Linked DNA regions of Homo sapiens: all the other regions are linked to region 2. The links are contacts of gene promoters, found by promoter capture Hi-C in blood cells and fetal thymus (Javierre and others, 2016). All regions are on one chromosome and are shown on one strand. The core of a region is centred on a gene start or on the middle of the fragment in contact, and the rest is flanking DNA. Distances in the headings are between cores, read along the strand shown. Region 1 has its middle 4.4 kb from the start of TEKT1. Region 2 holds the start of BCL6B (BCL6B transcription repressor). Region 3 has its middle 24 kb from the start of TEKT1.

Region 1 (3,024 bases), core at 129-2,628, 190 kb before region 2:
TAGAAAATGGTAAAATGTAATTGTTTGTGTACCCCTAGAATTTCTCCAGACAGATACATAAGAAACTGGTAACACTGGTTGCCTCTGGAAAGAGAACTGGATGGCTGGGGTGTGGAGGGTAAAGGAGGCTTCACTGAATAATCTTTTGCCTTTTGAGAGTTGTACAATTATTATCTCTTTTAAAAGAATATAAAAATGCAGAAACTCTTTATAATAAATGATTTCAGTAAATGAATGACACAAATACGGCAGCCGATAGAAGAGCAGGAGGTGTGAAAGCGTTGAGACAGAGCTAACTAGTTATTTTGAAACCAGAAGAATTCAGAGGGAGATGAACAGAGGCAGTATGTCTAGGAGACGACACACTTAGCCAGGGGCCTGAAGACTGGCTTCCAGCCTGGATCTCACCACGGACAAGCCTCAGGTTTCCCATCCTCGATAAATCTGTCATGCTATCCTGAGTATTTTATGGATGCAAAAGTGCTACCCAAACATCAGATCTTATTCACTTCTTATTTAACTGTCATACAGTGGCCACTGTGACCCTTGACCTCTGTTTTGGTAGCATTGCCAGTAGTATTGGGATCTGTGTCAACTTCCCCACTGAACTGCACCTAGATTGGGGGGAAAAGACTCCCTTCATATAATGGTATTGGTAAGATGTGAATTGTTTTCCATCTTAGGTTTCACTGTGGAGCAGTGAGTTCATTGATAAGAAACCACTAGCCCTTTATTCTTGCTATTCCTTATAATAAGTATCAATATCACAGGCCATTGTGCGAAGCTGGGCATTCAAGACCCTAGTGTTCTGCGTCTGTAGCGGGGACTTAGTCCCCTGTTGTATGACGCTAACCCCAAATTAGCAATTAACAAACATGATAACTTAAAAGCTTTTCATTGGAATTTTAACCTACCAAATAACTGTGATGTGCTTTTAAGAGGCCCTTAGGGGAATAAAAGGATATAAAGCATGTGCTTCCCCTTTGAAATAACAGATTTTCACTGCCAGTAAGGATGAAGAGATGTTCTCCACCATCTTTCTTTCAGGTGTTCACAGCAAATCAACAAGGAATAAAAAAATGGGAAAGATTCATAAGACACTGATCAATTACAGGACTGTATGGCACACACCAGGATGTCCCGGCACAGTTCACAAGCAAGGCTCCATTCAGGGTCCCCATTTCTCATTTCTAGAAGGTGGCTTTTCTCTGTAATTGACACCACAGTACAAAATAAATCAAAATCCTGAGGCTAGAAACAAGATAGTCAAGAATATGTGCAACATGTATTGATTTCTAGAAGTCGTCACGATATTTTAAAGTAGCTTCTTGTATAGAATTAAGTGGTGAAATGCTTCCTGTTTCTCGAATGATCACCACAACCACCATTTATCAAGCATGTATTATGTGCCAGGCACTGTGCTTGGGAGATATTATCCCATTTAATCTACACACAGCCCTTTAGGAGAGCTATGATTAATGACCCAATTTTTTAGAAGACAGGAGGCACAAAGAAGTTACTTACAGCTACTAAATGGTTAAAAAAAAGGAGGGGGCGGATTTTAATTACCTGACCCTAGAGCCTGCAATGCTAACCACTATACCCATTGTCGGAGCACTATATTGACTCACACGCTCCTAAGAGACAGGTTAGTCCTTTTCAAGGTAGTGCATAATGATCTTTTCAATGTGTAACGTTGGAGGCTTGACTAGACCTTTCTTAAGTCTTGTTCCTATTTGCCTCCAGGAGTTTGAGCAAAGTGGCCATTTCCTGCCCTTCATCACTTGCTGTATGGTTCTCCTTAAAGAAAAACCAGCCATGTGGGTGATCCTTTGAGCACCCCATCTGCCTCCACGGGCTCTCCTGTAAGCTTCTTCACCCAGCCAACAAGGTCCTGAGCAGAAGCCTTGTTTCCAGGCTGTCTCCTACGTCTGGAAGTCTGGGCTCTTGAATCACAACAGGATCTTGACTGCTTTGGCAATTTGAATTTGAGGATGATGAGCAGTGCCTCATCTCAAAAAATTACTGGAGTAACTTTTATGAAACTATTTTGTTTTCAGGGTCTAAGGTTTTTGCTTTGGAGACACTCAGGGAATATGTATCTACTCGTTCAGGCTTAGAAGGCTTGCTCTTGGCTGCTTTGTAGGCAACCAAACCAAATGTTGAACATATTCAGGGTTTTACCAAGTACTCCAAAAACAAGACCAAATATAATCAAAAGTAAGCAAGAAAGAAATGGTGAGATGGCTTTAAAATGACACCTGCATGCACAATGTTATTCATTTCAGCATCGCTGGTAATAGGAAAAGACTAGAAGCAACTTACATGCCCATCAGTAGGTGTCTTGCTAAACAAATTATGGCACATCCTTACCATTGGAAACCATGAAGCTACAAAAGAATGAGGAAGGACCTTTTGTAGCCAAACGAAATGACCTCTAAAGGATAATTTTCAGTGAAAAACAATAAAAAATCAATGTGATCCTCCTGCCTCAGCCTCCTGAGTAGCTGAAGCAGAAAGGTTGATATTATCTATTTTGTCCTCAAAAATATTTCTATAAATAAGAGGGGAGGAAGAAAACATATATACATATTTGCTTGTAAATGCATAAATATTTCTGGAAGGATACACAAGAAACTGGTGACCTTGGCTGACTGTGAAGCAAACTAGGTGTCCAGGGAGAGTGGTAGAAGGAGACTTTTCACTGAATACCCTTTTGTGTCTTTTACACTTTGAACCATACACATGTATGTACTACCTTTGCAAAAATAATAATTGAATTTTATTTTATTATTATTAAAATTAGTTCTAGACCAGTATTGATAAGTAGGAACAAGATAGAAAGTCTTATAACAAATAAGACAAAGGGCTAGAATATTTCAGTTACAGTGATAGGCTATGAACCGGGTCAGGACTAGCCAGTTAAAAGAGTCACTACATTTGGTCATTTGCTGTAAAGAAAGCCGAAATCAAATCGGTGCTTTGGTAAAGCCATTACATAACCTACATTTGGATTAATTCCAG
Region 2 (2,984 bases), core at 227-2,726:
GCCTTGCAGCTGGATTCAGCTCTAGCACCCCTTCTCCAAATGAGCTTTGCCTTGCCTGCCCGCAATGTCTCCCGAAACAAAATATGAGGGTGTGATCCATGCCCATCTCTCAGATCAGGGACTTCAAATTAGGGTGGTTAAGCCCCCTCCTGCCCTCTCTCCCTCCTCCTTGTTTTCCCTTCTCGTTTACCCCACCCAATTTTAATGTTCAATTAAAAGTCACCTCCAAAGACATCTGGGTAGCAGTGTCTAGCTTAATTCGAAAAGAAAACCCGGAGTTCCCAGGCTCAGGTCCCGCTTCTTGTCCCACCCATTCCCCTGGCTCCTAAAGCCCGCGATTTCTCACCTCGGGTAGGAACCCCAGCCTGAGGGGAAAGTCCCCTCGGTCTCCTAACTCTAGCTCCCTCCGCCCAGCCCTAGTCCCCTCCTAGGAGACAGAGGTGCAAAATAAACCCGCGCAAAGGGGAGGAGGCTAAAGGTTTCAGCCGCCCAGACCAAATGGATCCTGCGCCCGGGTCTGAGCGCACCCCAGGCCGGGTGGAGACGAGGGGCGAGGCGAGGCCAGTGCTCGGCCGCCCCCTCGTGGAAGGAGCCGCACATTGCCGAGCCTTGCCTACTTGCCGCGCTGGACCCCGGCGTCCCGCCAGCCTCCAAGCGTAGCCGACGGGCGGGTGCCCGAGGCCCTCGTGAGCTGGGATTGGGGGAAAGCAAGCGGGCTTTGGGCGGGAGTCCATCTCTCTGGATCCCTACAAGGACCCAGAAGAGAGTCGGGAGCGAGAGAGGCCGGACGCCTAGGTCTCCCGAGCGTCTCTCGCCCCTCCACCCCCACCTCGGGGCTTTCCCCACCTCCTCGAGGGGAAGCAGCTGGCGGAGCCGTCCGGTCGCAGGACAATGGAAGGAAACCAACTAGAAATCATATCCGCCCTCTCCGTACCCCGCCCGGCCAGAGCCCCCCTTTTTGTAGGCCCGGGTAGAGTAGCCTGTCATTCACACCACACCCTCCCCGTCTGAGACCCTACGGGAGCCCACTGTCGTCTGCCCAAACCTGCTGTCTCGTTGGGCTCCCCCTTTTCTCCCTTAACACAGTACAAGAGAGGGAGAGGGGGTTGCCGTATGCACTTTGTCCTGCAGCAAAGGTTGGCTCCTGGCAAACCCTCCCAAAAGCCAACACACCAATTTTCACTGGCCCAGGCCTTCCGACGACTCAGACTCCCGTATTGCCAACCTCGATATCCCTAACCTCCTCCCCAATTCCAATATCCCCGTCCTCGTGTCCACTTGCAGTGACCCAAGACCCCCTACGTTACGACCACCCCTTGTTTCTGAGGTCCCGCCCTCGAGACGGAGACCCCGCCCTGGACTCGCCATCTGGAGAGCGAGGGAGGAAGGAAGGATACAGACCCAGGCGTTCACCCCACCTCCACCCCCGCCCCCGACATCCCGGCCAGATAAAGGAGCCGAGGCCAAGAGGGGAGAGAGACCCCGCCCCCCTTAAGAAGAGAAGCCGCGGCCCCTGCAGGACGGGGGTAAGAACAAGAGACTGAGGGAGCCAGACTCCTGGGTCCCCCAAGAGGGTAGGAGCTTGTGTGGAGCTTGCCATCAGCGAGCCTGAGTCCCAGAAATTGGGCTAAACTAGGGATTGGGGACTAGATAGGAGTCGCAGAATTCCGTAGTTCGGGGAAGGGAGCCTCGGCTGGGATTTGGAGGTGTGTGGACGGCAGGCCGTGAGATCTCGAGGCAGGGTTGGACACCTGAGACACAGGCGCGCAGAGGGGAGTGGCGGTGCTGGAGGGGCACTGGGGGTCGAACCCAGGGCGATGGGCGCGGGATTCCCCACGCTCGCCAACGACGCCGCGGTGTGGAACCTTCAACTGGCTCCAAGCGCTGTGGGATCTGGAAGAGGCAAGGGAGCGAGGGTGTCGTAGAGGGCAGAATGAACAAGAAGAATTAGGAGGGAGGCTGCGTGTGCCGGGGCTAGGGGCTGGAAGTCCTGGCTCTAGTTGCACCTCGGAAGGAAAAGGCAAACAGAGGAGGGAAGGCGTCTTAGGACTGCCTGGATCCAGAGCACTTTCCACGGCCTCTACAGGCCTGTGTCGCTATGGGTTCCCCCGCCGCCCCGGAGGGAGCGCTGGGCTACGTCCGCGAGTTCACTCGCCACTCCTCCGACGTGCTGGGCAACCTCAACGAGCTGCGCCTGCGCGGGATCCTCACTGACGTCACGCTGCTGGTTGGCGGGCAACCCCTCAGAGCACACAAGGCAGTTCTCATCGCCTGCAGGTTCGAGGGGTGGGGCCTGGGGCGGGGCCAAATGGGAAAGGGGTGGGACCACAGGGCCGTTGAGAGGGAATCCGAAGCCAAGTCTTTCAGAAGCAGGAGGCGGAGCGTCCCAGAATTGGGGGCGGGGTGATAGTGAGGAGGCGGGACTTTTTCAGGGGGCGGGGCTTCCTGAAGCTGCGCATGTCTCCCTTGGTTCCCCAGCCCCCAAAGGACTTATCTGCTCTCTCTCTAGTGGCTTCTTCTATTCAATTTTCCGGGGCCGTGCGGGAGTCGGGGTGGACGTGCTCTCTCTGCCCGGGGGTCCCGAAGCGAGAGGCTTCGCCCCTCTATTGGACTTCATGTACACTTCGCGCCTGCGCCTCTCTCCAGCCACTGCACCAGCAGTCCTAGCGGCCGCCACCTATTTGCAGATGGAGCACGTGGTCCAGGCATGCCACCGCTTCATCCAGGCCAGGTGAGGGACCCTGGCTCGGCGTTCTCTGTGGGTGAGGTGTTAAGGGCAAAGGCAGAGTTTAGGAAATGGCACTAACGTTCATCACACTTTCCCCAGCTATGAACCTCTGGGCATCTCCCTGCGCCCCCTGGAAGCAGAACCCCCAACACCCCCAACGGCCCCTCCACCAGGTAGTCCCAGGCGCTCCGAAGGACACCCAGACCCACCTACTGAATCTCGAAGCTGCAGTCAAGGCCCCCCCAGTCCAGCCAGC
Region 3 (2,768 bases), core at 60-2,559, 170 kb before region 2:
ATCAGGAGGGAGGCCAGAGGAGCAGGAGGTAAAACCCTACCGGGAGAAGGACTTCCCTAGCTGAATTTTGTAACAATTTGAGTGGGGCGAGAAGCCTCCTGGCCGGAACTTGGGGGAGGATGCGGATCTGGCTTGCAGACTTCACAGGTGGGGGAAGAACTAAAGCCCTTTTCTTTCACAGGTGGGAGGCGGAAAGCCTCGGGCAAGTTTTCAAGCCCGTCCTCTGTCTGGAAACAGACTCAGAGGTGTTGCAGGGGACACGGTGGGAGTGAGACCAGCCCTTCGGTGTGCGTGGGATCTGGGGGAGGCCTGTGACTGCCGGCTTTCCCCTGCTTCTCTGACAACCTGCATGACTCAGCAGAGGCAGCCATAATCCTGGAGAGCCCCGGTTTAAGATCTCCAGGTGAAGTAGATTTTTATTGTAAGTAACTCCTGTACTTTTTAAGTTGTGAGACATGCATTCAAGGTTGAATTCTGAAATCATGTCTGAATTAACTTCACTGGAGTCTTCTGTTGCCCTTATAGAGTAGGGAATTCTCATAGTTCTGCTAGTAATTGTTTTTTGAGGGGGCAGGTGTGGTCTAACAAGGAAAGGCTAGAGAGCAATTAGGACCAAGGGAAAGACCTTGGGCCATGGAAGGTTGAGTTCTCTGAAAGTTTTAAAAATATAAATATGTATTTTTACTCTAGAGATGCGGTCTCACTAAGTTGTCCAGGCTGGTCTCAAGTAATCCTCCTGCCTTAGCCTCCCAAAGTTCTGGGATTACAGGAATGAGCCACCACACCTGGCCTCACCTCAGAACGTTTTGAAAATTTTAGTTTTGTCTGTTTGCTTGTTCAATCATTCTGCATGACTGGATATGGTGAGGATCATGTAATTTGGGGGACAGAGGAAGAACTCTTGGATTTTTTTGGATGACTTTACTGGTGCGATGAGTTCCCTGGTCACTTGACAGGGCAAGTAGAATTCCTCAGGAGGGGAAAATTTGTTCTAAGAGAACAAACAGTTGCAGCTGTGGGCTTCTTACGTGGAAAAGCTTCTAGTCAATAAGTGAACATAAAAACAATGGCCAGGGCATATTAATAACACTGACTTAGGAAGTTGAATAAAATATCTTTGCCAATAGAGAAAGAGTCCTGCTAGAGGTGGCTCTCTTCCTCGTTCTACCTTTATAACTTTTCCAGGATTCTGTTGTTGGCAGATATTCCAAGTAAGGAGTGAAGTTTCCCCACAAATGATGATGAAGGCATTGAGTCAGTATTTTCCCATGATGAAAAATTTTGTGAAGACTGAACTTCAGGTCAGGGACGAAGGAGAGCCCAAGTAGCCTTCTCAGTGTCTTCAAAGCCTATCTTTGGACTTTTTGGTGGGTAAAACATCCACCTTGTTTTCAATTAGCCTTTTCATCTTCAGGGGCCTTTAACTGAGATATTTTAATGTCCTCAAATAGAGGATAAATTGGCAAACTGAGTAGGTTTAATATCTGGTCTGATTACAGTGGGACTGGGACAGATTTATAAACTGCTACTTAGCATACTTATCAGCTGAGCTTCCCCTTGCCTTAGGGGTCTATTGCCCATATAAGCTTCTATCTTGAGTATGGCCAGCTCTTGTAATAATAAGGCCTCTAGGAGGTTACCCACATTTCCCATTTTAAACTAGTAGTCACAAATTCCCTGGCTTTCCACAACAGGTCAAAGTCATGTAATACCCTAAAAACATATCTGTTATCTGTGTTGATGTTAACTCTTTGATTCTTAGCTAAAGTGTAGGTTCTTGTGAGAGCCACAAATTATTCTATCTGATATAATTTGCACTGGGTAAAGCCTCATATGTTATGGGACTGTGGATATATGCAATGGCATATTCAGCCTGGAAACCTCTTTCTGAAGTCAGAGGTATGAACTATCAACAAAGAAAATGAGATCTGGATCTATAAGAGGTACTTCAGAAAGATCAGGACGGGGAAAGGTTAGAGCTTAGGTGGCTGAAATACAGTCATGGTGGTTGTACTTCAGTTGGGAGAGAAATGGTAACAAGGTTAAGATTTTGGTAATGGTGAATAGTAATGTGAGAAGGAGCAAACAAAAGGATCTCATAAGAGGTAAGGTTAGAGGTTGAAAAACGTTGGGGGTTCGCAGTCAGGACAAAGATGTGAACCACTTGGGCACAGAAGTGTGCGAAGTATGACCTAGCACAAAATCAACTGTGGCTTGAATCAAATTTGCTGTTGCCATGACAACTCAGAAGCAAGGAAGGAAGGCTTGAGCTATAGGGCCTAGCAAGAAGGTAAAATATCCAATGGGCCTCAGGCTCCTTTTGTATTTCTGAGACAGGACATCTAAAGTATGTTCTCTCTCATGAATGAATAGGCAGAAGGGCAAGGAGTAGTTGGGGAGTCCCAAGCTGGGGGAAGAGGAAAGGGAGGTTTTTAAAAGGATCCAATACTGTTATAGAGGTTAATTCTCGTTCTAGGGGTTCAGACAAGGAATCCACATTCTACAATAGCCAACCAGTCTGAGAAAGTCCAGGAGTTGTCTCATTGTTTTAGATAAAGTGTAATTAAGGATGCTTTTCATACATCTGGAGACAAAGTTTTTCCCTTACAGGAGATGTCATGTTTTAGAGAGTGAAACTGAAAATAGGAAAACTAAGGATAGTGAAATTATATTTTGTCTCTTGAAAACAATGTCCCTTTTAAGTCAGATCATCCAAAAGGTATCGAGTATCTGCCAATAAATTATCAAATGTACTGGAGCAAAGAAGG

Evidence for each region. Contacts are between HindIII fragments. The CHiCAGO score rates a contact against its expected background, and 5 or more counts as called.
Region 1: a contact is called between a fragment that was not itself captured here and the fragment with the promoter of BCL6B in region 2, in 1 of 17 cell types (megakaryocytes). The highest score is 5.7, in megakaryocytes.
Region 3: a fragment that was not itself captured here is called in contact with the fragment with the promoter of BCL6B in region 2 in 1 of 17 cell types (erythroblasts); the score reaches 5.1 in erythroblasts.

What each region holds. Positions count from the first base shown.
Region 1 is chr17:6,834,583-6,837,606 of GRCh38, forward strand. No RefSeq gene overlaps it. Among named protein-coding and RNA genes, the nearest start is that of TEKT1, 4.4 kb to the left of the region's middle. The HindIII fragment of the contact is 980 bases long and covers 889-1,868 here.
Region 2 is chr17:7,021,574-7,024,557 of GRCh38, forward strand. BCL6B (BCL6B transcription repressor) reads left to right here and starts at 1,477. Exons shown (of 9, transcript NM_181844.4): 1 at 1,477-1,526; 2 at 2,087-2,277; 3 at 2,510-2,731; 4 at 2,828-2,984. The coding sequence starts at 2,099. RefSeq lists a silencer at 431-570. The HindIII fragment of the contact is 4,378 bases long and covers 1-2,984 here.
Region 3 is chr17:6,854,033-6,856,800 of GRCh38, forward strand. It overlaps the pseudogene ALOX12P2. Among named protein-coding and RNA genes, the nearest start is that of TEKT1, 24 kb to the left of the region's middle. RefSeq lists an enhancer at 1-945. The HindIII fragment of the contact is 549 bases long and covers 1,036-1,584 here.